Regions from separate parts of the Homo sapiens genome. Here all the other regions are linked to region 5. Evidence: promoter capture Hi-C in 16 types of primary human blood cells and fetal thymus (Javierre and others, 2016). All regions are on one chromosome and are shown on one strand. The core of a region is centred on a gene start or on the middle of the fragment in contact, and the rest is flanking DNA. Distances in the headings are between cores, read along the strand shown. Region 1 overlaps TET3 (tet methylcytosine dioxygenase 3). Region 2 overlaps DCTN1 (dynactin subunit 1). Region 3 overlaps DCTN1-AS1 (DCTN1 antisense RNA 1). Region 4 holds the start of DGUOK-AS1 (DGUOK antisense RNA 1). Region 5 holds the start of MTHFD2 (methylenetetrahydrofolate dehydrogenase (NADP+ dependent) 2, methenyltetrahydrofolate cyclohydrolase). Region 6 has its middle 9.0 kb from the start of C2orf81. Region 7 overlaps RTKN (rhotekin).

Region 1 (2,818 bases), core at 202-2,701, 160 kb after region 5:
TCATATCAGTGCTGTGAAAGCAGTATCTACAGGGGCCTGTGGTGGCTCAGTATATACAGCTATCTGGGCAGGTGGGCAGGTGGGTGTCCAGGAAGGTTTTATCTCAAAGAAATCTCAGAGAGGCTGGAGAAAGTAGCAGGTATTTTGGAAGAAGGGGAAGAATTCTGCAGGAGTTCCAGATGGAAGGAATAGCATGTGAAAAGGCACAGAATCATAAGCCCTGGCAGGCTTGGAGATGCATAAGCTGTTGAGTGTATCTTGATCGCAAAGGCAGGGGAGGCAGGTGTGTGGACCACAGCCTGAATGCTACAGAGAGCAGATTTACATCTCAGGAGGGGCATTCAGGCATCTTGCAGAAGACAGACTGCAGGGTTCGAGGCTGGTGACCCAAAGACCAGTTAGGAGACTATGCAACTGTCCAGATTAGTAACAATAAGGACCTGAACTAAGGCACTAGCAGACAGATGGGGATGAAACGTGGTTATGGAGGTTAAGTGATTAAATTTAGCAGTGAGACAAGGAACAGAATCAATCCCTCCCTGAGAAAGTCCTCCTTGACCAGTCCTTTCCACCACAGGCTGCCCCAGAGCCTACAGTTACCGTGCACAGCCACGTTCTGTTAGGGATCTTTTCGTAAGAGTGTATGGTCAACTACACCATTTGCTCCTAGGGAACCAGGCATCTGCCACACCTTCAAAACCTACCGGAGTCTCTAGAATGCATTCAAAAAGCTCTGTCACTGCTTCCTCCCTAGGGACCTGGCTGGTGCAAGCCTCATCACCCCTATACTTTGAGATGACCCATGGAAGCTCTAGGCAGAGTTGGTGATCTCTCTGCTATTATGGCACCCATTACAATGCACACATGGTAGAGGTCTGCAAAGGCTACAGGGGCCTCCAGAGAAGCCCAAGGTGCTAGTGCTGCACATCTTACTGCCAACTTCCAGGTGCAAACCCCTTTTCCCTGCCCTCGCTGGGTCCTCACACCCAACCCCATCAGGTTTCTTCCCTGCTTCACAATATCACTGAAAGGGGGTATGCCCATCCCAGGCTAGGTCTTCCCCAAGTTGGAGGTGTGTTCCCATCACCTAGGGGCAGCAGGAATTTGTTACTAGGAGACTGAGAGGCAGGAAACATTACTCAGGCAGAGAAAATGCCCTTCTCAGATCCAAGAAGAGACATAACTCTTCACTACACTCCATGAAGAGTTCATATGTGCATACAGCATCGCCAACCCCAGTCACATTTCCCACCTTCAGAGAGCTGGGGACCCTGTGCTGAAGGTGACCCTGCACCCCGCCTGGCTAGCTCACAAGGTCCCCTGCCTCCTCCTCTACAGTGCACTGTCTTCTTAGACTCCCAAATCCCCAGAGCTGGTCCTCCAGACATCTGCAGGCATTCAACAGCAGCACCCTGCTCTCCCCACCCAGGGGACTCCAGAGCCCCCCAGATGCCAGGCAAGGCTGGAAAAGTGTGGAACGCCACTCCCCAAACACCTCGTTCAGTCAACAACACAGTGAAGGATACAGATATGACACCAGGTTTCCCAAATCCTTCCTTACTCTCAACACATCAAAACCAGATCAGCAATTCTCTATTAAAGGAAAATAGGGAAGAGAGAAGACAAGAATGTTATCTTGAAAGAGCAAAGTCCTGATTGGCTATACCTTCTTAAGGCCTTTAAGAAAGGGGAAGTTACAAGAGGAACAGAGTCTGGAGGGCTGTTTTGCTGACTGTCAGCAGTTACACACCATATTAGAAGAACCATGTCCAAGAAGGTGTTTTTGGCCAGAATGAACTAGCCTGTAGTCAACCTTCAGAGCCCAGTAGCCCATTCTCTGCAAAGGAATCTCCTGAAGCGAATTCTCATGGGACTCCAAGATAGTGGTGGCAACACCCCACCCTGCTAAGCCAGTAAACTCCACCCAGTACTTTCCCAACCACACATACCACCAGCTCAGCTACTCTGATCCACAGCAGCTGTTCAAGGGGCTGCTCTTTCCAGCCTCATCCTTTATCTCAGTCCTAGAGTTCAGAATCCACCTCCTTACAAAGCTAATTCCTTCTTCCTTGCCACCAAATGGATGGCCCCACTCTCTCTAATAGCAAATGGGTTGTATTTATGGCATGTTCTGTCTAGGGTTGATCAATTATTCATTTCTTAAGAGGATTCTCCCTTCGGAAGATTTATTGATAAAACTAATAAGCGAGTGCAGAAAGAGAGTTTTAGGGGAACCCTTGCAGAGGAGGTGCACATCTGCCTGTTCTTGCAGAAGTGAGTGTGTGCCCATGGGCACACTGGCTAGCCCAGTCCCATGTCTGCACCCTCCATACCCAAACTGGCCACCTCTGCAGACAGCAACTCCAGGATTATGTCTAACTTCTTGAGAGCATTATACGTTGGCAGAGGGTATTCTTATATGGGGGGAGGGGGAGGCAGTTGTTCTTGTGGTTACTACATGCATACCAGTAAAACATTTTAAAATCTAATTTTTTTTCCTACTACAAAATGGGCAGATACAGCAAATCTGTCAGTGGCTGGGGTGATACTTAGAAAAAAGCTGAAATGGGCCTAATTCCCTGAGGTCATCATATCTGGCAGAAGCACAGGACTTTGTTCATGTCCTCTGACCTAACAGTAACTAATGTGGGTTCGAGGAAGAAAGGAAAAGAAGGAACCAGGAAAAGTCTCTACGTGACTCTGATGGAACCCTCTTATGACAGGCAGAGTATCATGCAAATTGTCGCACATTCACTTATCTCATTTAATCACCACAGGCTCCTCCAAGGTGGAGATCAGAGATAAGGACACTAAACAC
Region 2 (2,988 bases), core at 298-2,797, 170 kb before region 5:
AATAGACTGAGAGAGGGAGATTCAGCTTGACTCCCAAAGAGGGCTTAGCAGGGGTAGAGAGCCTGGCACCCCCACTTTTGGCCCAACCTTCTGTGGAAATTAGATTGTACTTTTTCCGTCTAGGGGTGGAGGGCATAGACCTGGAGCAAGGATGGGACTGAGAGTATAATGGAGTTGCTAGAATGATCACAAGTGGGTCATAGATGGGGGTTCTAGGGAATAACGGATTCTGCTCTTAAGGGTAGTGCCAGAGCTAGGAGGAATGTGGAGTCAGTGCCAAGCGAGGAGCCTTATAATCTTATGTCTTTCTCTTATCTTTTCCTCCCTCTCTCCTCTGCCTCCATCCTCCCCCTGTCCTTTGTCACTATCTCTCTCTGCCTCTCTGTATCATTTTCCTTGTCCCCTTCATTCTTCTTTTCTCACTGTGCTTTGATACTCTCTTTCTGCTTTTTCCCTTTTCTGTCTCCTTCCCTTGCCATATTCTCATATTCTGTTTCTGTTCCTCTTACTACCCCTATCCTCTGCTTTCTTTCTGGTCTGCCTCTACCCTTTCTGAATAGCCCACGCGCCCAGCCAGTACTGGGGTGGCTGGGGCCAGTAGCTCCCTGGGCCCCTCTGGCTCAGCGTCAGCAGGTGAGCTGAGCAGCAGTGAGCCCAGCACCCCGGCTCAGACTCCGCTGGCAGCACCCATCATCCCCACGCCGGTCCTCACCTCTCCTGGAGCAGTCCCCCCGCTTCCTTCCCCATCCAAGGTAAGGCCTGGGGTAGGGGTAAAGGAGAATCAAGACACCCAGAGGCTTGTGGCTACCCGCTGTGTCTTGAAAATTTCCTGGGGTTGGCAAAGACCTAGAACTTGGATCAGAAAGGGTGAGGACATAGCCTATGGATATCTTGCTACTGACTGAGCCATCCTTTCCTTTCTTGCCCTTATGCCATACTTTCCCCATATATACTGTGCTACGGTTTCCTCTCAGATGTTCTTATGCCACTGACTGTTGGCCACCCTGGGGCTGGGTGATGTTTGCACACTTTCTTGTGTTCTTTGCGCCAGCTCAGTGTTGGTGGAGAGGAGGAGTGGGCTGTGCACAGACCGTGAGGCCTCTCCTTTGCAGGAGGAGGAGGGACTAAGGGCTCAGGTGCGGGACCTGGAGGAGAAACTAGAGACCCTGAGACTGAAACGGGCAGAAGACAAAGCAAAGCTAAAAGAGCTGGAGAAACACAAAATCCAGCTGGAGCAGGTGCAGGAATGGAAGAGCAAAATGCAGGAGCAGCAGGCCGACCTGCAGCGGCGCCTCAAGGAGGCGAGAAAGGTTTGACTCTGGATGAAGGGGGTGGCTGGGGCAGCCTGAGACCTAAGGAAGCATGCTGGAAACTAGACTGGAGCTGGAGCCTGGAACATACTGTGAGAAAGGCCTGGGGCATCTCTGTGCTGGTACCCCCTCCCACCTCCACTTCTTCCTCAGGAAGCCAAGGAGGCGCTGGAGGCAAAGGAACGCTATATGGAGGAGATGGCTGATACTGCTGATGCCATTGAGATGGCCACTTTGGACAAGGAGATGGCTGAAGAGCGGGCTGAGTCCCTGCAGCAGGAGGTGGAGGCACTGAAGGAGCGGGTGGACGAGCTCACTACTGACTTAGAGATCCTCAAGGCTGAGATTGAAGAGAAGGGTAAGGGGCCCACAGCTGCTGGGGGCCAAACGGTCAGGTGAGAACCATGCCTGAAAGTGTTAATGATCTTCTCCAGGCTCAGATGGCGCTGCATCCAGTTATCAGCTCAAGCAGCTTGAGGAGCAGAATGCCCGCCTGAAGGATGCCCTGGTGAGGTAGGGTCTTCAGTGCTTGCCTCTGATGCTTACTCTTGTGTCTCCAAATGTGTTAGAGCACCCATCGCCAGAGACTCTGACACGTGCTTTCCTCCTTCTGCCTTCCTCACATCCCTGCAGGATGCGGGATCTTTCTTCCTCAGAGAAGCAGGAGCATGTGAAGCTCCAGAAGCTCATGGAAAAGAAGAACCAAGAGCTGGAAGTTGTGAGGCAACAGCGGGAGCGTCTGCAGGAGGAGCTAAGCCAGGCAGAGAGCACCATTGATGAGCTCAAGGAGCAGGTCTGGGGAGCCCAGCCCCTCACCCAGAATCCCCCACCTGACTCTCCTATCAGTTGATGCCTCCTCTTTCTAGGTACCTTCCAGCAGCCCTTCTCCCTATCCTCCCCGTAACACAGGTGGATGCTGCTCTGGGTGCTGAGGAGATGGTGGAGATGCTGACAGATCGGAACCTGAATCTGGAAGAGAAAGTGCGCGAGTTGAGGGAGACTGTGGGAGACTTGGTAAGAGAAGAGCAGACCCCTGACATCTGACTTGGACCTGCTGAGAAAAAGATTGACATGTGACCCTTGGCCTTTGAGCAGGGTGTGCGGTGAGGGACCCAGCCTGGGCTTGCTACCCTGACCCTGCCTTTTTTTTTTTTTTTTTTTTCTGAGATGGAATCTCGCTCTGTTGCCAGGCTGGAGCGCAGTGGCGCAATAATCTCGGCTCACTGCAACCTCCGCCTCCCAGGTTCAAGCGATTCTCCTGCCTCAGCCTCCCGAGTAGCTGGTACTACAGGCATGCGCCACCATACCCAGCTAATTTTTGTATTTTTAGTAGAGATGGGGTTTCACCATGTTGGCCAGCATGATCTCGATCTCGACCTCATGATCCGCCTGCTTTGACCTCCCAAAGTGCTGGGATTACAGGTGTGAACCACCGCCGCTGGCCGACCCTGCCTTTCTTTAGCCCAAACTATGGTGTGGTGTCCTAGGAAGCGATGAATGAGATGAACGATGAGCTGCAGGAGAATGCACGTGAGACAGAACTGGAGCTGCGGGAGCAGCTGGACATGGCAGGCGCGCGGGTTCGTGAGGCCCAGAAGCGTGTGGAGGCAGCCCAGGAGACGGTTGCAGACTACCAGCAGACCATCAAGAAGTACCGCCAGCTGACCGCCCATCTACA
Region 3 (2,827 bases), core at 27-2,526, 200 kb before region 5:
ACAGGTACGTGCTAGCATGCCCAGCTAATTTTTGTATTTTTAGTCGTGATGGGGTTTCACCATGTTGGCCAGACTGGTCTCGAACTGCTGACCTCAAGTGATCCACCCACCTTGGCCTCCCAAAGTGCTGGGATTACAGGCGTGAGCCACTGCACCCGGCCTATTTTGGCCTTTTCCATGTAAGTCATCATATCATCTGTGAAAAATGACAGTTTAATTTCCTTCTTTCTAATCTTTATGTCTTTTATATACGTTTTTCTTGCCTTGATGCACTAGTTCAAATACAGTGTTGATCAGACTCAGAGATATTCGGCATCTTCGTATTCCTGATTTTAGAGAATCTAATGAGATCTTACATTCTTTTCAAGGATCTGTATTTGTTTTAACAAAAAGCTTTCATCTGTAGATTATTTTCTTTATGATTTCTACAGTGATTCACTTCTTTTTACTTTTGAAAATTCTTTTACTTTTTAAAATTGCATGGTCCTTGGTCGCCATTGTACTTTTTATGGTCGTTCTGGGTTATCCTACATTGTGGATTCTTCTTATCACACAGTTTTCAAGGAACCCCCAGGGGACCACCCTCATGCTGTTCCCTACCCCACCTCAGAAGGAAAAGGGGTACAGTAGGTCAGGCTCTCCCTAAGCCACCTTGTCTCCTCATACTCTACCTGTATGTTATAACAAACCAGGCAATGAACACACATGTGGTCCTTTCCTGAAGGGCCAGACCCTCTCATAAAAGTGTAACAAAGCAGGGAGAAGAAGGAGTGAAGCGCTATCTCTGTACTGACCAATATGGTAGCCCTTGGCCACATGTGGCCATTAAGCACTTGAAATGTGGCTAATGTAACTGAGAAATGGAATTTTAATTTTTATTTATTTTTAATTAATTTTATGTTTAAAAATGTATACATTTAAGTATTCAGTTCAGTTATTGGAAAATATGTTAAAATGTTTGAAATAAGTTGCATACCTGAATCTACTTTTCCAGGCTGAGCCTGGTGGCTCAGGCCTGTAATCTCAGCTTTGAGAGGCCGAGGCAAGAGGATCATTTGAGGCCAGGAATGCAAGGCCAGCCTGTCCAACATAGAAGGACCTTATCTCTGACATGAATGAATGAATGAATGAATGAGTAAATAAATAAATAAATCTACTTTTTCAATTGTAAATTTTATGTAGTCTAAACCAGATCAAGGATGTCCCATGAAAACTTAGCATCTGAATAGAGATGTACTATAAATGTGCAAAATACAGATCGCATTCTAAAGACAGTGCAAAAAAAGAGAATGTAAAATGCCTCATTTTTGTATTGATTACATGTTGAAATGACAATATTTTGAATATTCTGGTTTAAATAAAGTATGTTGTTAAAATTAATTTCACCAGGCTGGGCAACATGGCAAAAACCCATTTCTACAAAAAATATAAAAATTAGCCAGGCATGGTGGCATATGCCTGCAGTCCCAGCTACTTAGGAAGCTGAGGTGGGAGGATCGTTTGAGCCTGGGAGGTGGAGGTTGCAGTGAGCTGAGATCATGCTATTGTATCCCAGCCTGGGCAACAGAACAAGACCCTGTCTCAAAGAAAAAGAAATTAATTTCACCTTTTTTTTTTCTAACTTTTACAAACTGTCGCTACTAAAAAATTTAAAATTATATGTGTGGCTGGCTTATATAAAATTTTATCTTGGCTCGCACATGTAATCTCAGCACTTTGGAAAGCCAAGGCAGGAGGATCATCTGAGCCCAAGAGTTCAAGATCAGTCTGGACAACATAGTGAGACTCTGTCTTTCCAAAAAATTTTTAAAAATAGCCAGAAACGGTGGCCTTTGGTCTCTCAGCTATTCTGGAGGCTGATGTAGGAGGATCACTTGAGCCAGGGAGGTTGAGGCTGCAGTGAGCCATGATAGCGCCACTGCACTCTAGCTTGGGTGGCAGAGCAAGATCCTGTCTTTAAAAAATTAAGTTTTCTCCAGAAATTTTCTTTAAAATTTGTTAACCTATTTCCCAACTAAAAACAATTTTAAAATTTACATTTATGTCTATTGGGCAGTGCTGGTATAGCTAATCTAGATGCTTCTCTCTCCCACACATGTCCTCCCCCATGGCTTTGTCATCTTTGATTTACTCTCTATTGATTCCCCTCTCCAAGCTTTTCAGTCTGAAAACCCACCTTCTCCTGGAAAACAGCATCCCTTTCCTCAGGGGGAGGATTCTCCCATGGATTCTTCCCCACATTCTATAATGCCTAGGATTTCACCCAGGTAAGCACAGATGTTCTTCTCTGTTCAGCATCACATGTTGGGGGGAAGGGCTCTAGTTATGTGAACAGGAGTTTGGGGGTCCTTGTTCAGGTTCCCCATTGGAGGAAGCCAAAGGCAGCCTGGATCTCTTACAACAGCACCTATGAAGAAAAACACAGGACAAAGACAATATTAATTTTCCTTGAAGACCACTCAGCCTAATCAAATGTAAAAAAAAATCAATATTTCTCCTATTAGCACGTCCTGTCCTTATGATTCAGTAGGATCCCTTTCATGATGCTGAGAAACATTTTGGTCTTTCCTGAATCACCACCCCCATCCCACCTGAGGCCTGGCAGCTTTATATAAAAAACTCAACACACAGGTTTTTTTTTGTTTTTTGACAGTCTCACTCTGTCACCCAGGTTGGAGTGCAATGGCATGATCTCTGCTCACTGTGCAACCTCCGCCTCCCGGGCTCAAGCGATTTGCCTGCCTTAGCCTCCCAAGTAGCTGGGATTACAGGTGTGCGCCACCATGCCTGCTAATTTTTTTTGTATTTTTAGTAGAGACAGGGTTTC
Region 4 (2,700 bases), core at 148-2,647, 220 kb after region 5:
CCAGCAGCCATCCTCTTGTATTCTGTCTGGGTAAATGGCACCAGCAAGTTACTGTGTCATTTACTCTTTGCCAGCAATCTATGAGAGGGTCATTTCATAAAGCCCTCTCGTTTAGGTAACTGGGTGAATGCTGGTGCCATTCACTGTGACAAAATGCAGAAGGAAGGATGCCTGGGGATGGAGACATTCGTGTGAAAGTGAGTGTGCAACTGAGGGGGTGAGGCCTGGGTTTGAGATTTGGGCCCCATCAGTGAGCAGACAGCGAGGCCTCAGTTGTGGAGGAGCTCATCCAGGGTGGATATGGAGTGTGAGAGGGAAAGGCTGCCAGGACAGAGCCCCAGGGAATACCAGCCCATGAGGGACAGGAGCTGAGAAGGCGCCGCCAGAGAGGTTGGAGGGAACCCAGCCAGGCTAGAGAGCTGCCTGTCATATCTTCCCGGCCTCTGGAACCTTACACTTCGGCAGTCCTGTTGCTCATTCCTTCTGCCTGGGGAAAAACCCTTCCCACCCCACCCCTTCTCAGCTACCCCTTGTACCTGCCAAATTCCCACTCATCCTGCAAGTCATAAGTGCCAGTTCCATGAAACCTCCAGCTGCTCAGATGATTCCAGAGCCCCACCCACTCTCCCTCCACAGAAGTTTGACTCTCCCTGCCTAGGAACAGTTATCTCATCGGCGCTGGGCACTGGAATGGTTTGCATGTTTCTTTCCCAGTTACTACAAACTCCTGGAAGGGTAGCACGCTGTCTTTCACCTCATAACCCTAGACCTAGCAACCAACCACTGTGTTGAATGAAGAGACGAGGTGAGTAGACCCTAATGAATGACAGACCCCAGTAACACTGAAGACCCATAGGCTTCTTTCCTGCTTTCTTTACGACTTGCACAAACTGGTCAGGGGCGCCCAAGATAAAACAGCCTAAACTCCTCAGGTCCTGCCTTCTGGTTCTCCAGCCTCCTGGGCTGCTGCGGCTATTCCCATTCACATTGCGCTCAGGGCAGGAGAGCAGCGGGGGTGGGCGTAGGGATAGGGCGAGCCCTTCCTGGGGCTGCATTAGCCTAGACGCAGTGGTTCCGCCAAGAGAGCCCCGGCACCAGCAGCATCACCATCTCCTGGGAACTGGCTAGAAATGCAAGCTCTCGGCCCCATCCTAACCCCACTGAATCAGAAACCCTGGGGGCGGGCCCAGCAATCTGTTTTAATTAGTCCGTCAGGTGAAGTCAAGTTAGAGCAGCACTGGACTACAGCAAGCGGGGGAGAAGGAAGTTCAGCACCCAGGTGGAGACTGCGATTAGGCCCCCAAGGCGCTTAGAGCAGACAGAGGGAGAGAGGCTCCTTTTAGGAGCGGGTTTGGCGGGCGCCACCCCAAGCGGCCAAGGGCGGAGCCTCTTTTAGGCGACTGCTCCCGCGAGGTCAGAGCCGGGCTGTGCCGCTGCCCCCGGGACTAGAAAGGGAAATCTCCTTGCTAGAGGAGGAAGCCCTAAGAACTCAAGGGAGATAGGGGTGGCAGGGGCATTTCCCTGGATGCCTGGAGCATGGAGGGTGCGAAATAAGGAGGCTTTCCTACCCCATTGATGAGCTGAAGTTGATTCCGCACGGGGGAGGAAAGGGACAGGAAGCATAATTGGATGTGCAAGCCTGTGGTTCTTCAGGAAGTTAACACGTGGAACTAACACTGTTGGATGCTGCTGAACTCTCAGGTGATTGATGTGACTAACCTCCTCAGGTACTTGACCTCTCTCCTCTTCAGCTAATGAGTAATTTGTCCTTATTTAAGAATGAGATTTGCGTATGGGGACCTTTTGCAGAAATGTAAATACATCCCGATATCCATACCTGGGCTTGGTTTTAAAGACTGAAGGTATTGGGAGGTTTATTTGATTTTGGATGTATTACTTCTTTGGTCATGTATTGGCTAAAAATATTATCAACTAATATTTGCATAGATCTTTCCCTTTTCAAAGCACTTCCACACACATTATCCTTCTGTCTGCACAGAGTGGCAAATACAACAAATGTGCAAATGTTAACTTTCCTTATCTATGACATAGTTTTTATTATCATCACCATTTTACAGATAAGAGAACTGGCGCTCAGTGAGGTAATTTGTCCAAGGTCATTCACTACTACATGTCAGAATCCAGGACCTACAATCCAGGACCTCTGAAATTAGCCCACGAATGCTAGAGCTGATACCAGGCAGAAGCTGGCATTTTGCTCTCAGGGAAAGGGAGGTTCATTAGTGGGTTGCTTGTGGACCTGCATTGGTGAGTGTGACACGTGTAGGATATCTATGCTATGCGTTTTTGGGTTTTTTGTTTTGTTTTGGTTTTGGGTTTTGGTTTTTTTTTTTTCTTTGAGATGGAGTCTCACTCTTGTCACCCAGGCTGAAGTGCAGTGGCGCGATCTGGGCTCACTGTAACCTCTGCTGCCCAGGTTCAAATGATTCTCCTGCCTCAGACTCTCGAGTAGCTGGGATTACAGGCACCTGCCACCGCGCCCAGCTAATTTTTGTAGTTTTAGTAGAGACTGGTCTTGAACTCCTGACCTCATGATCCACCCACCTCGACCTCCCAAACTGCTGGGATTACATGAGTGAGCCACCGCGCCCGGCTACTACGTTTTTCAATAGCCCCGCAAATGTCCTCATGTTTTATAACTAGTTTTGTGACTGCATTTTGAATTTTTTGAATCAAATA
Region 5 (3,023 bases), core at 466-2,965:
GAGAGTGTAGACAAACTGGCCCAGTTCTTTAGGTAATGAATGAGAGCATCTTTATAAATCTCTTTTGGACCATGGAAGCCTAGGAAAGGTCTGGTCCACAGTCACATGAGGCCAGCACTCAGGAAGAGGGAGAAGGGGAGAAAACACACAGTAACGAAACATGGGGGAGGTCAAGAGTCAGACCAGGGAAAACCCTGAAAGTCCCCTCCCACGTTTTCCTTCAAGAACTCATTGCTCCAACAAGCAGCGCCTTTGAAATATTTCTAACAGCATTTCCGCACTGACTGGAAATTACACGCGTGTTCTGCCCCTTGTCAGGAACATGAGCTCCATTAAGAACAGTTTTTCTCATCTTTGAATTCGCACAGCTTGGCATAGTGTCTGGTACACAGTGAACGTTAGATGAAAAAAAGAAGGGGCTGATGTTGTAAGGTGCAGGGCTCTAACAATGCCAACAATGCCAGCGCTCTAATGACCGACCAAATCACCTTCCCAAGGAAACCCAAAAATGCAAACAGAGCTTTTCCTTTCCTCCTCCCCTGTATATTTTTCCCAATTTTGTTATTGTGGTAAAATTCACATAACATAAACCTTATCAACTTTTTTTTTTTTTTTTTTTTTTGAGACAGGGTCTCGCTCTGTCGCCCAGACTGGAGGGCAGTGGTGCAATCACGGCTCACTGCAGCCTCGAACTCCTGGGCTCAAGCGATTCTCGTGCCTCAGCCTCGGCGCGTGTCACCACGCCCGGCCCATCTTAACCATTTTTAAGTGCAGTTCAGTGGTATTAAATACGTTCATATGTTGTGCAACCATCACCACCATCCATCTTCAGAACTCTTCATCTTGTAAAACTGAAATTCTGCAAGTACCGCTGAAATATGGGTACTTGTCACTCTCCATTCCCCCTTTCCCTAAGGCCCTGGGAGCCTCCCGGATGTTTGCCACCTCTATGTACGCAGCCCGGCACTGACAGGCTCTGGTGGGCTGCAGCCAAAGCTAGGGTGCCCAGAGTCCGTTCATGTTCCTGGCAGAGCGGAGGCAGCGCGGGCCACTCCCACCGGCGGAGGGAGGAGGGCGGCGCGGGGACCCCGAGCAAGTCGGCTCCGCGATTTCATCAGCTGCAGCAGCGCCCTCCGCCGCTAGGGTCCCCGCAAGGACAACTCGCCGAGGGCTGCTCTTTTGGAACCCTCGCCTGTTCTCCCCCAGACGACTCTCAGCATCCCAGCCAGAGGCGGCCGGCGCTGTCGGAAGGCTCCGCGTAAACTGATGCCTTCGCGTTCCGCACGCCACCCCCGTCCCGCCCGCCGACTGGCCACGGGCCCCGGCGACGCCCCGAGTCGCAGGAGAGCGGCTCCCTCCGAAAGGCGGGCTTCGGGTACCAGCCCTCCGCGCCGAGGAAGCGCCCCAGTCGAGAGCTGCGGCGGCGCTCGGTGCCACGTCGCCCCGCCACACCCCTCAGCGGCCACCACCGCCGGGGCGGAGATGTTCGGGAAGGACTTCCCTCGGTGTCCCTCGGGGGCCCGGCGTGCCCCTCGCCCTCCGTTCCCCTCAGCTTTCCGCGCTGACCGAGCTCTGTGACCCTCTTACCGAACTGCCGCGAGGTGGAAAGGGCGAAGGCGAAGGGAGCAGCTGTGCGCGGGCTGCAGCAGCCGGGCAGCCAAAGCAGACATTAGAGAAGTCGCAGCCATAGACCGCGCCGGTGACTGCGCCGGGAGGGAAGCGCGCGCGCGGGCCACGCGGTTATACTGCGGCCTCGTGGCAGGCCCCGCCTCCCTCCGCCACCCATTGGTCCCTGCCGCATGCCACTGGCTGTCTGTTGAGCCAGGTGGAGCCGAAGGGGCCAACCGGTTTTCTTTATTAAACGTAAGCGAAGTCCGAAAGAGCCCTGCTTTTGATTGGAGCCAGAAGAGCCTGGAGCGAGGTCCTGTAAGGCGCTGAAGCCTCGGCAACGTGCCATGATAGGCTGAGGAAGTCAAACTCCTGCCTGACGCCGCTAGTGTCACCGAAGGCCGGACAACACAAGAGAAAAGTTCATTCATTCATTCGTTGAACAATTATATGAGCGCCTACTGTGTGCCAAGCACTGTAAAGGGTGGATGAAAAGACAAGCTGATAGAATGCCAACGAACAGAAGTAAAAGGAATGATGGAGTTAGAAAATCACCATTTTCCAAAATCAGTACATGGTGGCGCGTGACTACAGTACCAGCTACTGGGGAGGCTGAGGTGGAAGGATCACCTGAGTTCAGGAGGTTGAGGCTGCAGTGAGCTGAAGGCGCGCCACTGCACTCCAGCCTGGGCGACGAGAGTGAGACCATATCTCAAAACAACAACAAAAAAAGTAAAATCATAAAAGATATTCAGAGACAGACGTCAGGGTTGCATGTGCAACCCTGATTCAGAAGCAGCAATAGATGTCAAAACAACTGGGTGAAAGTTGGATGAGGAGCAAGATATTTACATATAGGGTTGCCAGATCTAGCAAATAAAAACACAAGATGCCCAATCAAATCAGAATTTTAGATAAACACTTTGGGAGGTCATATTTATACTTTATTTATGGCTTATCTGGAATTCAGATTCAACTGGGCTTCCTGTATTTTTTCCCGCAAACTTTTTGCATAGTCTCAAAGTATCTCTCCCGCAAGGAAACTTAAGGAGGGCAGGGCGCGGTGGCTCACTTCTGTAATCCCCAGCTCTTTGGGAGGCCAAGGCGGACGGATCACCTGAGGCCAGGAGTTCGAGACCAGCCTGGCCAATGTGTTGAAACCCCCGTCTCTACTAAAAACACAAAAAATTATCTGAGCATCGTGGCGGACGCTGTAATCCCAGCTACTGGGGAGACTGAGGCATGAGAATCGCTTGAATCTGGGAGGCAGAGGTTGCAGGGAGCCGAGACTGTGCCACTGCACTTCAGCCTGGGCAACAAAAAGACTCTGTCTCAAAAAACAAAACAAACAAACAAAGAACAGGGGAAACCAATCCTGTCAACACCTTGACCTTTACTTCTAGCCTCCAGGAAGG
Region 6 (3,076 bases), core at 1-2,500, 210 kb before region 5:
CTCTCACTGAACCCCAAGGGGAGCAGTTATCCTGCAGGCCTAGAAGAAGATAGAACCAGGGTTCAGGAAATAACCCTCTCGCCACCCTTAGGAGACCCTGCATTAGGGCCAAAGCTGCCCCATTGCAGAGGCATTCTAGAGAAACCCCTGTCCCCCAAAGGAGTAGACATAAGGGCTGCCAGCGGGTCTGGCTCTGTAGAGAGAACTTCGAGTCTCCTTTCAGTAGGGGAGGAAGGAGAAGGCCCCGCATAAGCACAGAGTGATTCGAGATATGAAGAACTTGATTTCTTGCTTCCCTGGTCCCTGGAGCTTGGTCACTTCACCTTAGACTGCAAATCCAAATTTCACTTTTGAAGTTAAGGAGGAACTCTCAAACTCAAACAGTATATTGAACAAACTCAAGAGTCAGTGCCTCCTTAAATTTTATCTTAGGCTCCACACCTGCCTCATTGCTAGTCTCCACTCTGCCCAGATTTATCCTGCACCCACTTCCTCCTACAGCATTTCCCCAGCAGGCCCAGGAAGTTTCTGCTATGTTGCTGTGGGCTGCACTCAGCATCCTGGTCTGGGGCGCTGGCTCTGTCTTCCTTATTCTGGTCTTCTTCAACTACATGTGCAGCTCTGGCAGAAGTCTCATCCCTGGGACCTCCAGTGCTGCTCCACAGATCTGACTGGGAAAATAGCCATAGTGACTGGGGCCAACAGTGGTGAGTGCTCCTCCCACCCTGAATCCTCACTATGGGCCTCAGCCTCCAACAACTCTCACAGGGAAGGCAGGGAGGAGCATCCACTATCAACACCCTTGTCCCTCCCCTAGAGTGTCCCTTGTTCACTGTAGTCACCACCCAGCCGAAGTTGTCCTCCCACAGGCATCGGGAAGGTTGTATCCCAGGACCTAGCTCGGTGTGGGGCCCAAGTGATCCTTACTTGTCAGAGCAGGGAATGTGGACAGCAAGCCCTGGCTGAGATCCAAGCAGCCTCAAACAGCAACCGCCTCCTGCTTGGCGAGGTGGACCTTAGCTCCATGACCTCTATTCGGAGCTTTGCCCGGAGGCTTCTACAGGAGAATCCTGAGATACATCTGCTGGTAAACAATGCTGGAGTCAGTGGTATGTGCCTGGCTTGCTTCTCCAAACATGTTTCTGCAGTCTCCTTTCTAGCTCAGGAACTCTAAAACAGGTATCCTCAAAGCCTAGTCTATGCAATCTTGCCAAAACACTAATCCATACCCTCCCCTAAAAAGCTGACATTGAGTTATAGCCTTAAACTTCATTGCCCCCATCTTCACATGTATGTGCCCCTGTGGCATTTCTGCTGAAGGTAATATGTCCCTCCCAGACCTTGTCTCCCTCAAGGTGGTCCCTTTATCACTCAATGCCAGTGTTTTCATTTCCTCCCAGGATTCCGAAGACACTTACCCCAGGGGGCCTGGATCTCACCTTTGTCACTAACTATGTTGGGCCCTTTCTGCTCACAAATCTACTCCAAGGTAAGGAAGGATGGGCACCTTCTGTGCTGCCCTCTTCCCTATACCCCTGGCATTCTAGTAACTGTCTCCCAGGACCACCTCTTGCCTCTTGGCACCCAGCTGTTTGCTGAGTGGTGACCCAACACACTTTTTGTGTCACACATCAGGGAAGCCCAGCTGGCACAAGTCAGTATTAGAAGGCTGATAGAAGAATCATTCAGCCCAAAATATAATCAGCAAGGGGATATGAGATCCCAGACCTCCTTCTCCCATCCCCTAGTTCTAGCCAGACCAGTAGAGTAGTTTTTGCAATGAAGGCTTCTTGAGGGGGACACTAGGCACCAGAAACAGAGAAAGCAAGAAGACTCAGTTTCTGTTCTCAGGGTCGGCCAGAGGTGTAGGCCATACAGATGATACAGTTGATACATTACTGCCTTGGGCCTAAGTCCTTTGAAGAGGCCCTTTCTGATTGAGAAAGTTTGGCTCCTCCAGGGAAAGTTTCGGGGAGTGGGTGGCAGGAACATTCTCTCTGACATTTTCTCCTAGATTGTATAATAGCCCCTTTATTATTATTATTATTTTTTAATTACTCATCCCCTTGCAATGTGATAGCCTCCTTAAAAGAAAAGCAATTTTTCTTTTGGTCAGGTAATACATATCCAAAGTACAAAATTGAAAGTGTACAAAAGGATACAGAGGGTTTTTTTTTTTAAACTATTTTTCTCTTCTGGTACATAAGCCACCTGTTCCCCTCCTGAGAGGCAACTACTGTTGCCGGAGTCTCACGTATCCTTTAGCAGTCAACTAAATTAATCCCAATTGGAAAGTGAACAAAGGCAAAACTCTATGCACCTGCAAGTATGATTGTTTTTGTCCCTTTCCACAAATTGTAACATGTCACGACACTATCTGCATCTTGCTTAGTGACAGTTTCTTAAACTTCTTTCCTGTCTCATCTTCTCTAATCTATTCTCCCCACTGCCACATCGAGTAATCACCTTTCATCATGACACTTTCTTGCTTAAAATCCTTTGAAGGTAACCTCTCCTTTGTAGGATGAACTCTAAGCCCCTTCTCTACACTTAGAAGGCTGTGTGCTAGGCTGGGTGCAGTAGCTCATGCCTGTAATCCCAGCACTTTGAGAGGCTGAGGTGGGCAAATCACCTGAGGTTGGGAGTTTGAGACCGGCCTGATCAACATGGAGAAACCCCGTCTCTACTAAAAATACAAAATTAGCTGGGCGTGGTGGTGCATGCCTGTAATCCTAGCTACTCGGGAGGCTGAGGCAGGAGAATTGCTTGAACCCGAGAGGTGGAGGTTTCAGTGAGCCAAGACCGCGCCATTGCACTCCAGCCTGGGCAACAAGAGTGAAACTCTGTCTCAAAAAAAAAAAAAAAACCCTCTGCTGACTAAGAGCCTTGCCTTTTGCCCTTCCTTAACCCACCTCCTAGTCTCCAGCCAGACAATCTGCAGCTCTTGGACCACGGTCTGTTTTTTTTCACCCTCTGGCTGTGTTTTTGCACATACGGTTCCTTCTATCTGGAATATCCTTTCTCATCATGTTGGCCTGGCTAACTTTAGTTCACCTGCCAAGACGCAGCACAGATA
Region 7 (3,003 bases), core at 108-2,607, 240 kb before region 5:
TGTTTCTTGTGAGCATGGTTGTGCCATGACATGGCACTTATGGAGCAGCCATTAAAGTCATCATCTCTCACCTCCCAGCTGGATTTTAAATGTACAACCTTGGACAGTACAGGGATGCTCCAGTGTTGACTGAGTAAATGCTGCTACCACCAAAGTATAGCGTCATTAAAATAAGCATCCCTGCCATTAATGTATACCACATGCTGGGCACTGTGCTAAGTGCTTTAAGTTCCTGCCTCACAGAATTCTCACAGCCCTAGGACTATTTCCATTCCTGATTTACAGATGGGGAAACTGAGGCTTAGGGAGGTTGAGCAAATTGCCCATTGCTTTTTAAGAAGCAGGACCTCCAGGGCTCCTTTCTAAATGAATGTTCCTGAGAATCCTGGTGTCTCTTCCAGGGCCTCTCAGCTGGCCCTTATCCACAGTCCCTCATTCCTGGACCACCTACCTTCCCATCCCCATTCCTTGCCTCTGACCTCATCTCCCAAGCTCAGAGGGCCGGTAGGTGGTGATTCTCTTAATTTGGGGTGTATAGGTTTCTGTGCAGCGTCAGTGAACACTGTAGGTGGTATGCTCCTTGTCCACTGATCCCTTGCCAACTAGATGTCCCTGGCATCACTTGAGTCTGAGGGATAACTCTCATTTGCCTTTCCTTCTGTCCATTCCCATGAGTTGGTGGTTCTCAACCTGGGTGTACCTCAGAATCACTTGGGGAGTTTTCCAAAAGTACATATGCCCCACTCCTAGAGATTCTTATTCTGCAAATCTTAGGTAGGGCCTGATCATTTTTTTTTAAACTCCAAAGATCTAATATTTTTTAAAGGAAATACAATTTCCAGTAGTACAAAGGGTATATATAAAGTATCATTAGGCTGGGCGCAGTGGCTCAAGCCTGTAATCCCGCACTTTGGGAGGCCGAGGTGGGAGGATCACTTGAGGCCAGGAGTTCGAGACTAGTCTGGCCAACATGGCGAAACCCTGTCTCTACTAAGAATACAAAAGTTAGGCCAGGCATGGTGTCTCACACCTGCAATCCCAGCACTTTGGGAGGCCAAGGCGGGTGGATCACCTGAGGTCGGGAGTTTGAGACCAGCCTGGCCAACATGGTGCAACCCCGTCTCTACTAAAAATACAAAAATTAGCTGGGTGTGGTGGCTCACACCTGTAATCCCAGCTACTCCGGAGGCTAGGCAGAAGAATTGCTTGAACCTGGGAGGCGGAGTTTGCAGTGAGCCGAGATCATGCCACTTCACTCCAGCCTGGGCAACAGAGTAAGACTCGGTCTCAAAAAAAAAAAAAAAAAAGAATACAAAACTTACTCGGGCGTGGTGGCACATGCCTGTAATCTCAGCTACTCAGGAGGCTGAGGCACAAGAATCACTTGAACCTGGAAGGTGGAAGTTGCAGTGAGCTGAGATCGCGCCACTGTACTCCAGCTTGGGTGACAGAGTGAGACTCGGTCTCAAAAAAAAAAAAGTATCATAAATGTTTTCCATCCCTGGCTCCCAGGCCTACAATCACTAATATTTTATGCATAAACATGCATATCTATATCTATGTATATATATGCATGCATACATATATATATATCATGCACAAATGGTAGTATGTGCAATACTACCCTTCTTTTCTCACATCATTTATTTTGGAGATTGTTTCATATCTGCATACATGTGCATATCTCTTTCCTTAATGTCTGCAATACTACAGGGTACAGATGTACTGTTACTTATTTAACCAATGTCCTACTGAAGGGGTTTTAATTTTGGTGTTTAAAACAATGCCACAATGAGGCCGGGCGCGGTGGCTCACGCCTGTAATCCCAGCACTTTGGGAGGCCGAGGTGGGCGGATCACAAGGTCAGGAGATCGAGACCATCCCGGTTAACACTGTGAAACCCCGTCTCTACTAAAAATACAAAAAAACAATTAGCCGGATGTGGTGGCGGGCGCCTGTAGTCCCAGCTACTTGGGAGGCTGAGGCAGGAGAATGGCATGAACCCCAGGAGGTGGAGCTTGCAGTGAACTGAGATCGTACCACTGCACTCCAGCTTGGGCAACAGAGCGAGACTCCGTCTCAAAAAAAAAAAAAAATGCCGCACTGAATATTTTTGTATGTATGGCTTTACCTAGATATATGTGAAATTATATGTGTAAGATAAACTGCTAGGTATTGGATAGCTGAATTAAAGGATATATGAATTTGTAGTTTTCATAGATTTTTTTCCAAATTGCACTCAAAAGAGGCTGAAGGAATTTATACTTCCAACCATCAAATGCATGAGGGCATCTCTATTTTTCTTATTTGTTTTATATATATATATATATGTTTTTTTTTTTTTTGAGCCAGAGTCTTGCTCTGTCGTCCAGGCTGGGGTGCAGTGGTGCAGTCTCGGCTCACTGCAAGCTCCGCCTCCCGGGTTCATGCCATTCTCCTGCCTCAGCCTCCCAAGTAGCTGGGACTACAGGCGCCCGCCACCACGCCCTGCTAATTTTTTGTATTTTTAGTAGAGACGGGGTTTCACCGTGTTAGCCGGGATGGTCTCGATCTCCTGGCCTTGTGATCCGCCTGCCTCTGCCTCCCAAAGTGCTGGGATTACAGGCGTGAGCCACCGTGCCCGGCTGTTATATATTTTTTTAGAGGTGGGGTCTCACTATGTTGCCCAGGCTGGCCTTGATCTCCTAGGCTCAAGGGATCCTCCCACCTCAGCCTCCCTCACACACCACTGCACCTGGCTACAAAGCTTCTCTGGTTATTCGTGGGCAGCTGAGATTGAGACCCAATGCCTGCTCTTGAACTGCCTAAAACATTAGTTTCTTGTCAGTTTTACTGGCCACAGCCCACCTGGGGACTGGGGAGTGCTTTAGCCTGTCCACTGACTGACATTTCCTTCTCACCCTTCCCCCAACCCTGGCTAGGACACGGAGTTGCAGAGGAAGCTAGACCATGAGATCCGGATGAGGGAAGGGGCCTGTAAGCTGCTGGCAGCCTGCTCCCAGC

The links. Contacts are between HindIII fragments. The CHiCAGO score rates a contact against its expected background, and 5 or more counts as called.
Region 1: a contact is called between a fragment that was not itself captured here and the fragment with the promoter of MTHFD2 in region 5, in 1 of 17 cell types (activated CD4 T cells). The highest score is 7.8, in activated CD4 T cells.
Region 2: a contact is called between a fragment that was not itself captured here and the fragment with the promoter of MTHFD2 in region 5, in 2 of 17 cell types (naive CD4 T cells and total CD4 T cells). The highest score is 6.3, in naive CD4 T cells.
Region 3: a fragment that was not itself captured here is called in contact with the fragment with the promoter of MTHFD2 in region 5 in 10 of 17 cell types (total CD4 T cells, naive CD8 T cells, total CD8 T cells and 7 more); the score reaches 9.5 in total CD4 T cells.
Region 4: a contact is called between the fragment with the promoter of DGUOK-AS1 here and the fragment with the promoter of MTHFD2 in region 5, in 14 of 17 cell types (fetal thymus, activated CD4 T cells, naive CD8 T cells and 11 more). The highest score is 14.4, in fetal thymus.
Region 6: a fragment that was not itself captured here is called in contact with the fragment with the promoter of MTHFD2 in region 5 in 7 of 17 cell types (activated CD4 T cells, naive CD4 T cells, total CD4 T cells and 4 more); the score reaches 7.9 in activated CD4 T cells.
Region 7: a contact is called between a fragment that was not itself captured here and the fragment with the promoter of MTHFD2 in region 5, in 1 of 17 cell types (naive CD8 T cells). The highest score is 5.3, in naive CD8 T cells.

What each region holds. Positions count from the first base shown.
Region 1 is chr2:74,036,622-74,039,439 of GRCh38, reverse strand. The region is part of intron 3 of TET3 (tet methylcytosine dioxygenase 3); the gene reads right to left. Among named protein-coding and RNA genes, the nearest start is that of TET3, 53 kb to the right of the region's middle. The HindIII fragment of the contact is 6,428 bases long and covers 1-2,818 here.
Region 2 is chr2:74,369,301-74,372,288 of GRCh38, reverse strand. DCTN1 (dynactin subunit 1) reads left to right here. Exons shown (of 32, transcript NM_004082.5): 8 at 561-752; 9 at 1,113-1,310; 10 at 1,464-1,668; 11 at 1,745-1,823; 12 at 1,944-2,103; 13 at 2,220-2,324; 14 at 2,798-2,988. Among named protein-coding and RNA genes, the nearest start is that of DCTN1, 9.5 kb to the left of the region's middle. The HindIII fragment of the contact is 6,181 bases long and covers 1-2,988 here.
Region 3 is chr2:74,394,634-74,397,460 of GRCh38, reverse strand. DCTN1-AS1 (DCTN1 antisense RNA 1) reads right to left here. Exons shown (of 3, transcript NR_158174.1): 3 at 1-2,407. Among named protein-coding and RNA genes, the nearest start is that of DCTN1-AS1, 11 kb to the right of the region's middle. The HindIII fragment of the contact is 1,762 bases long and covers 396-2,157 here.
Region 4 is chr2:73,980,136-73,982,835 of GRCh38, reverse strand. DGUOK-AS1 (DGUOK antisense RNA 1) reads left to right here and starts at 1,397. Exons shown (of 2, transcript NR_104030.1): 1 at 1,397-1,701. The HindIII fragment of the contact is 8,489 bases long and covers 1-2,700 here.
Region 5 is chr2:74,197,307-74,200,329 of GRCh38, reverse strand. It overlaps MTHFD2 (methylenetetrahydrofolate dehydrogenase (NADP+ dependent) 2, methenyltetrahydrofolate cyclohydrolase), which reads right to left and starts at 1,715. Exons shown (of 8, transcript NM_006636.4): 1 at 1,588-1,715. The coding sequence starts at 1,688. RefSeq lists silencers at 957-1,046, 1,177-1,456, 1,647-1,786 and an enhancer at 1,495-2,053. The HindIII fragment of the contact is 3,357 bases long and covers 1-3,023 here.
Region 6 is chr2:74,411,061-74,414,136 of GRCh38, reverse strand. No RefSeq gene overlaps it. Among named protein-coding and RNA genes, the nearest start is that of C2orf81, 9.0 kb to the left of the region's middle. The HindIII fragment of the contact is 6,860 bases long and covers 1-3,076 here.
Region 7 is chr2:74,432,585-74,435,587 of GRCh38, reverse strand. RTKN (rhotekin) reads left to right here. Exons shown (of 12, transcript NM_001015055.2): 2 at 2,922-3,003. Among named protein-coding and RNA genes, the nearest start is that of RTKN, 7.9 kb to the left of the region's middle. The HindIII fragment of the contact is 2,783 bases long and covers 1-2,748 here.